Regions from separate parts of the Homo sapiens genome. Here region 1 is linked to region 2. The links are contacts of gene promoters, found by promoter capture Hi-C in human tissues and cell types (Jung and others, 2019). All regions are on one chromosome and are shown on one strand. Each heading gives the region's core, a stretch centred on a gene start or on the middle of the fragment in contact. The rest is flanking DNA. Distances are from core to core; before and after follow the strand shown. Region 1 overlaps HHAT (hedgehog acyltransferase). Region 2 holds the start of IRF6 (interferon regulatory factor 6).

Region 1 (3,914 bases), core at 382-2,881, 580 kb after region 2:
ATTAAACATCATCTTGACCTATTCATTGGCCCAGCTTTTCTGTTTGGTCATTTCCCTTAGGTAACTTTTTTAAATAGGGAAGAATAGACATGAGAGAGACATTTTTATTTCCTTTAAATGAATGTTTTCTGTGATAATTAGAGGTGAAAGGCCATGTGTAATTTTTGTTGATGGGATTTTACCAGCAGAGTTTTCAGGAGTCCTGGACTTTCTGGTGGAACAGAAAGTCTTATATGTTTTGTTGTATTATATCCTTTTTTCCACCCTAAAAAATTAAACTTGGAGAAGTTTCGAGGCATAGGTAAGCTTGGGGTCATGAATTCTAAATGTAATTCTAAGTGTTCAAAAATGTTGTATTTAAAAAGCTCATATGTTTTTCTTTTTTTTTTTTTTTCTTTTTGAGTTTGTATTAAAAAAGTGTCTTGGCTTTTGTGTCTTTTAGCTGTATCCCTGTTATAAAAGTGGTATTTTACTAGCATGGCCTCATCACATGACCTTTGAACTTATTTACATTTGTTTAGTTAATTGACTCTTGGCTAATTTGGAAATCTCTAGATGGGGAAATAAGCTGTGGATCAGGGATCAGGAGCCAGGTTAAAGCTTTGAGTTCTCTGCTGTGCTGCCTGGCTGTGTGTTTGTGGGCATGTCCCAGACTCTGGTGTAGTCATCTCTAAATGGAAGCAATTCAACTACATACATGATTTCCAGCAAGGGACAGGGGCTTTATGAGCAGGTCATGTATCAGGATCTGGGGTGTGGGGAGCATGTGTAATCTGAGAATGCGCAGTATTGTATTTCCTTATTTGAAGAAATGGGAAAACTTTTTTAAAATGAGTGGCACAAAGTAAAGCATGATACGGTCTTGGCTGGTGGTTTACAAGGGATGGGAAGCACATGGGTCTAGCAGTTAGTAGCGGGTACTGCTGTTTAATAGCACTGTGTGCTGCTACAAACTTTTAATGTACATATGCTCTTATTTAAGCCTCAAAAATCCCTGTAAGGTAAGTACTATTGTCATATGAAGAAACAGAACAGAAAGGTTAAGAATCATGTTCAAGGTCATCACAGCAAGTGTGTGAGTAGATCTGGGCTCTGGACCCAAAACAAGCCTCCAGTCTTAGCTACCTTGCACTCATAGTCTGTTATGAATCAAGATCAATTTTATATGTATCTTACCTTCTGCAAAAAAGAGTTTTATTTGTGTGCAACTGGTATGACATTACCCCACAATCTTAGGTACACCAAAAAAATCACACTTTTCTTCAAATCCAATTAAGAGAGGCTTCAAGTTCCACTTGCAGAGATTGGTGAGGAGTTCAATATCAGTGGTCATTGCAGGAGTCCTTTTCTTTTTTTCTTTTTTTTTTTTTTTTTTTTTTTTTTGAGACAGAGTCTCGCTCTGTCGCCCAGGCTGGAGTGCAGTGGCGGGATTTCGGCTCACTGCAAGCTCCGCCTCCCGGGTTCACGCCATTCTCCTGCCTCAGCCTCCCAAGTAGCTGGGACTACAGGCGCCCGCCACTACGCCCGGCTAATTTTTTGTATTTTTAGTAGAGACGGGGTTTCACCGTTTTAGCCGGGATGGTCTCGATCTCCTGACCTCGTGATCCGCCCGCCTCGGCCTCCCAAAGTGCTGGGATTACAGGCGTGAGCCACCGCGCCCGGCCTGCAGGAGTCCTTTTCCAGGCACACATTTTGCTTAGAAAATTCTGAGACCTCAAATCCCCCTCCATCCTGGTAGTGCTGAACTGTTCACTGGCCAAGCCTGCATTGCCTGTTTCAGGGTGACCGATGACAGTGTGCATCTCTCCACGCTCCTCTTGGCCTCCGTGGTCCTTTCTGGGGCTCCTGAGGCCATGACTTTGAGGTGCTGGTTCCTAAGCGTCCACATGTCCACTGTTGTCAGAGGTTTCTACCTTCTCCTCCTGGGGAGCTTCATAGATGTGGAACCTGGTACTGATGCAGACACAGAATGCCACATGGACACAGAGCTTCTTGGGGGGAAGGGAAGTGTACCTTTCATTCCTTCATTATAAATTTATATGAACTTAGTTAATTTCTCTGACAAATTATTCTGTCTGTAAATGGCAACAAGACTCAGAATAACTGACTTTAAGCCATTTTATTAGTGTCCAGTTTACATTTCTCAGTGAAAATATCTAGTTGTCTAAACTGGGATAGCCTCAATTCATTACTTGTACTATCCCTGTGAACTTGGGTAAATGAATTGAGTTCCTTACGTCTCTGTTTCATGTTTTGCAAAATGGAAATAATAATAGCATCTATACTACAGAGGGCCCTGGGAGATCAGCTGTAACAAAGACACTGAGTTGTAGAAAGTCCGAGGTGCATTTGGGGAATGGCAATGGCAATCATTCCGGTTAGGTTGGTGCAAAAGTAATTGCAGTTTTTGCCATTACTAATAGCAAGCTGGAGGGGAGTGTACAGGTGGGTGGGGAAAGGCTAGAAGTGTGTAAATCCTCTTTTACAGAGTTTGGACTCACACTGGCCTTCTTTCCAGTTTTATTAACTGGAGTTTGTGTTCTGACTCAGACGTGTACTGAAATCCCTCTGATAAACTATTTTGTCCTATTTAGGATGCGACCGACTTTGAGTGGAGCTTCTGGATGGAATGGGGGAAGCAGTGGCTGGTGTGGCTTCTCCTTGGCCACATGGTAGTGTCTCAAATGGCCACACTGCTGGCAAGAAAGGTATGATTATATGTGTTGTTACCTTTTAAGTGTGTTTTTCCTTTGCTTCTTGTGAAGAAAGAGTCCAAGCTAGGAATCGGAAGACTTGGATATTAGCACTGGGAGCCTGGAAAAAATGATAAAGTTGTTAACAATCAATATAACATTTAAGATAAAAGTTCATAGTTCATATCCTGCACTTGCTTTCTCCAACTTATTTTCAGGCATTGAATATAAAGGTTGTAGTGTAAAACTAACCATGGAGGGTGGTGGTGGTCTTTAAGATCACTTCTAATCAAATGATCAAAAAGTTGCCTGTGGTTGAGAATCTGGATGAGTTCACTTGCAAATTCAGAAGAAAGTTGATGATTTACTTAAGAAGTGGGAATAATTTTAAAGTCAAGTAGTTTATGCTGCTGTCACTGTTTTAGATGGGAAGTCCAGTAGCATTTTGCTCTTGCCTTGGGCTGGCTTAGAGGATGAGAGATTCTTCAAAGTGGTTATTTGAAAACTACTTTTATGTGAGGCAGGATTGAGACCCTCTTCACAGGTCTAGCTACCAAGGGACCTGATATACTGCCAGGAGGATCTTTCTGTCACCTGGGGGCCAGGGTATTGCCCAGAGGCCTCTGATAAATACTTCTTGCTTGCTATAGATTCCTGATGGAGGAAAAAGTCTGTGCTTGGAAATTTACCGAATAAAAGCAAGACACAACCAAAACCTGATTTGGAAGTCAACCTAGGAAAAATGTTTTGATTCTCAGAGGTTCCCGCAGGTGATAAAACTGAAGTAGAAGAGAAACAGAAACCTCTGGAGATTGAGACCAGAAAGTGAGATGCAGAAATAGGATGTCCTGTGGTTAGAGATGCGCACCTAACTTGGGCCAGTTTCTGACTCTTTCCTGAAAATTGGCGTTTCCTGGGCTTGCTCCTCACCCTGGAAGATAGGAAATCCCGACAGCATATTAACTTCTTCTTGAATATGATACTGATTTTTTTTTTGTACTCAAGTGGCTGCTGAACTGGCAAAATCCAAAATATTAGATGTTGTCAGATCTGAGTATATTTTAAAATTTCATTTAACTTTGTGAGCAGACCTAATAATAATTTTTTTTGTTCCTAAGCTAGTAATAAATATATCTACCTCAGCCCTCATTAATGGTTTTCTTTACTCCCACAAATTTCTGTTTAGTTTTTTTTTCCCCAAGAATTCAAAACTTCTGGAAA
Region 2 (4,003 bases), core at 30-2,529:
CACACGCCATTTCTCGCAGACAATTCTTAGCAGTCCCAGCTCTTCCCTTTCTCCTGAAAGAAATGAAATGCCATCGTCTAAGTTCCGTTCCTCAGGCTTCCCTGTTTAGCCCTGCTTAGGGGTAAACTGCAGGCCTCTAGTCAAAATGCCCACACCCTTCCCTTCTGCTGGATGGAAGCTGGGGGATGGCGAATGGGAGTTACAAGGTATTGAGTGCCACTGTCATACATCATACACACGTCTCATCCTAAACCACACTCCTGGGTCAACACCAGCTTTCACCAATCCCACCCAAGCGCCTTCCTCTCTCTATCCATCTCTTTTCCCTGACTTCCACTCTTGACATCCACCAAGAGAACAGGTTGGAACAGGATGACCCCTTTACCACAAAGCAGGCTCCCTGTAAAGAGTGACACCTCAGGCCTCCTTTCCAAGTCAGGCCTGGGAGACTTTCCCCATTCTCCACACCACCCTCCAGCCCCTTCGGGCAAAGAGGGCCCACCCCCAGAGCAACCACACCCCAGCGCCACCCTCCCCAGCACCTAGCTCCGCTCCTTGGAAATCCAAGGTTGTCTCCCAGGCCCAGGGCGAAGGGCCTAACTGTGCCAAACAGACTCAGGGAGGGAAGACAAACCGCCAATGCTCCAAAGCTCCTGGCCACCCTCACTCCAGTTTCCCAAAACGCCCACTAGGATCAAGGACCTGCGGACCTGGGAAGTCCCCTCTCTGGGACACAGGGGCCAGCCGCAAGTTGGTAAGACTGAAGGGGGCGCGGTGCTTTAGCTCTACCGGATAGTGGGGTTGTTGACGGCCGAGAGCAGTGCCCTCCGCTTCGGCGGTGGGGGTAGGGAGAGTAGACACAAGTGTAGATTCGAGAGGGGCCTAGCGCTACAGAACTGAGGCCGCCCCAAAGCTATCTGGAAAAGGGCGACAGGCACCCAGCCCCAGTGGGTACCCACCCCAAACACACAGATGCCCCCAAGCAAGTTCTCTCACCCCCTACAAACTCCGGGGATGGGTCCTACCCCACCCACGGGGGAGCCTCTCCTCCCTCAAGCTGGTCCCCAGAAGTTGGCGTACCCACCTTTGCTCAATCTGTCCACCAGAAGCGGACGTCCCTCCGAACCAAGTCCGCAGCGAAGATCACCCGTCGCTACCACGCTCCTCGACGTCTTAGCCAAGGGGCGCCTGGCTCTACCCAAGTAGGGACTGCAGGTTCCTCTCCCCGTCCCGCACCAGCCCTTACCTGCCCAGCCCAGGTGCGCCGAGCTCACGTCAGCGCCTCGCCCCAGGACGCCGCAGCCTTCGCATCCGCCCGGCCACGCCTCCCAGGTGTGGCCACGCCCCCCGGCGTTCGGGATTGGCGAGTTGCAAGAAATATGACACTCCGCGTTTCTGGGCTGCCCGGCCCAGCGGCGTCCGTCCAGCGTCCCACCCTACTCCTCCGCTTCTAACTCCGGCTAAGAAAGTCCCAGATTCAGGCCTAGCCTTACGGCTCAGGGCTGGTGGTCCTGGGAACTGGAAGCGACTGGGAGTTCAGATCTAAGTCGAGAGGGTGCCTCCCTCCTTCACGGCCCATAATTACCCTGCAGTATGCAGACAGTTAAGCACAAATAAGGGTTTTGAGATTCTGGGTTGGCCCTACTACTCGTGGGCCTGTGTAAGTGGAGTTGCACATGAAGAAGAGAACCAGGACACTTGGTCCTGTCTGGGAGAAGCCATAGGCTTTCAGGACTAGAATTCTACCTTTACTCTGCCTCTTACCCGTGTGACCCTGGGTAAGTTACTTAGCTTCTTGGCTTCTTGGTTTCAGTTTCCTCATCTCTTCAATGAGAATAATAATTCCTTCCTTCTTTTTTGTTGTTGTTTGCTTTTTTCTCTTTCTTTTTTCTTCCTTTTTTTTTTTTTTTTTTTTTGGAGATGGGGTCTTGCTATTAAGTTACACAGTCTGGTCTGCAACACCTGGGCTCAAGGGATCCGCCTCAGCCTCGCAAAGTGCTGGGATTACAGGCACTGGCACCCAGTTCAATTCCTTTTTTTTTTTTTTTTTTTTTTTTTAGGCAGGGTCTGGCTCTGTCATCCAGGCTAGAATGCAGTGGCACAATCATAGCTCAACCTCCTGGGCTCAAGCAATTATCCCACCTCACCCTCCCAAGTAACTGGAAATATAGGCATGGGTCACCATGCCCGGCTAATTTTTTTTTTTTTTTTTTAGAGACAGGGTCTGACTATGTTGCCCAGACTGGAGTTCCTGCTTCCTCTGATCACTATCGTGTAATGAGTAAAAGCATAGCCTCTGGAGCCAACTATTGGGGTTTAGACCCCAACTCCATCAGTTACTACAGACTTGGGAAAGTTTCTTAAGCTTTTTAGGCCCTGGTGTCTTATCTGTAGAAAGAGGTTAGTAATAGTACCTACCTCAGGGGTATTGTGGGAATTCAATAACTACATGTAAACTGCTTGCAACAATATTTAGCACTTATCAAGTGCTTTATATGTACTTGCAATTATTATTGGCATAAAGATTAAAAATACCATATAGACAGTGCGTCAGAGAACAAGAAGGCATTCCTTGTTATTACCTGAAATTCAAGTCCTGCATGTACCCTAACAGGTGCTTGATGAGATTGCCCTCACCTTCCTCATCTATCTAGAGGACCGGTTTGCAGGAGGCTGTGCAACAGTAAATGAGACTTTTAAAAATCCCCCACCCTCAACCACTGAGCTGTCGTAGGTGAAATGGGGCATGCGCAGGTCACTTAGGTTTTGGTGTTTAAAGTAATGAGTGAGAAACTGTGGAGGAGTGGTACAATGAGTTGAACTGTCACCCACATACAAAAAAATTTGTATTTGTATTTTGAAGTCCTGACCACCCCCACTGCAACCACAGCCAGATGTCAGAATATGACCTTATTGGGAGACAGGATCCTTATGGAGGTAATCAAGTTAAAACGTGGTTATTAGGGTGAGCCTGAATCCAATATGAATGGTGTCCTTATAAAAGGAGGAGATTTGGACACAGAGGCAGATACCCACAGAGGGAAGGTGATATGAAGAGACATAAAGAGAAGACAGCTAGCTGCAACCCAAGGAGAGATACCTGGAATAGAGCTCTTTTTTTTTTTTTTTTTTTCACATCCCTCAGACCCTTGATTTTAGACTTTTAAACTCCAGAACTATGAAACAAAAAATTTCTGTTGTTCAAGCCACCCACTCTGAGGTACATTGTTATGGTAGCCCTAGCATACTCATACAAGTGTGTTGAAGAGCCCCAGATTGATAATAATGTAGGCATGATTCCAAGTCCCAATTTAGCTTTGGAATGTAGCCAGCAAAGGCCTGGGAAGGCAGCAAGGCCCCAAGGCCTGACTCAGCCAGCCTCTGTCTCAACCACTGCCCTGTGGCCACTCTTCCCTTCACTGGGGGAAGGGCAAGCTCATCAGCACAGCTAGCTGTTTACTGCTGATGAGCTCACTAGACAAACAGCATCTTCCATCTGGCCCAGGGCTGGGCTCTGGGGACCAAACAAGCTCCACTGCAGGTGTATGAGAGGGATGAGGGGTAAGGCCATTGGGAGAGTGTCATTTGAGGGGAGTCAAAACCCCAGTGGCATACAAGTATGAGCCCACACACAGGCACTCACTTTTGCACCAGCTGAAATTCCCATGACTAAGGGGATGTCTTAAGGACCTTCTTTAGAAGACATATATTTTGGAATCAGAAAACTCAAGCTGGGAGGGTTCTTCTGGACTATCTAGATCAAGACTAAAACTGACTTAGCCAGTTTTTACCCACACAGTATTTTAAATATCAGGAGGTATCACATAAACATCAAAATTCTCAGCATCTCTTAAAGAGTCAAGTGCCCTGGATGCTCTACCAGCAGTTCTACCTGGCAACAGTTGCCCATTTAGAGGGAGTCTACACGTTACAGCCAATACAAACTCACTCTATTGAGCTCACTAATTTACTTTAATTGCCTGACCCTGTAGGCATCTGATTG

What was found. Contacts are between HindIII fragments. The study calls those that stand out against the background at their distance.
Region 1: a fragment that was not itself captured here is called in contact with the fragment with the promoter of IRF6 in region 2 in 1 of the 25 tissues and cell types used here (H1 embryonic stem cells).

Annotation. Positions count from the first base shown.
Region 1 is chr1:210,384,874-210,388,787 of GRCh38, forward strand. It overlaps HHAT (hedgehog acyltransferase), which reads left to right. Exons shown (of 12, transcript NM_018194.6): 4 at 2,595-2,708. Among named protein-coding and RNA genes, the nearest start is that of HHAT, 58 kb to the left of the region's middle. The HindIII fragment of the contact is 5,842 bases long and covers 1-3,914 here.
Region 2 is chr1:209,804,863-209,808,865 of GRCh38, forward strand. It overlaps IRF6 (interferon regulatory factor 6), which reads right to left and starts at 1,280. Exons shown (of 9, transcript NM_006147.4): 1 at 1,085-1,280. RefSeq lists a silencer at 1,202-1,545. The HindIII fragment of the contact is 7,591 bases long and covers 1-4,003 here.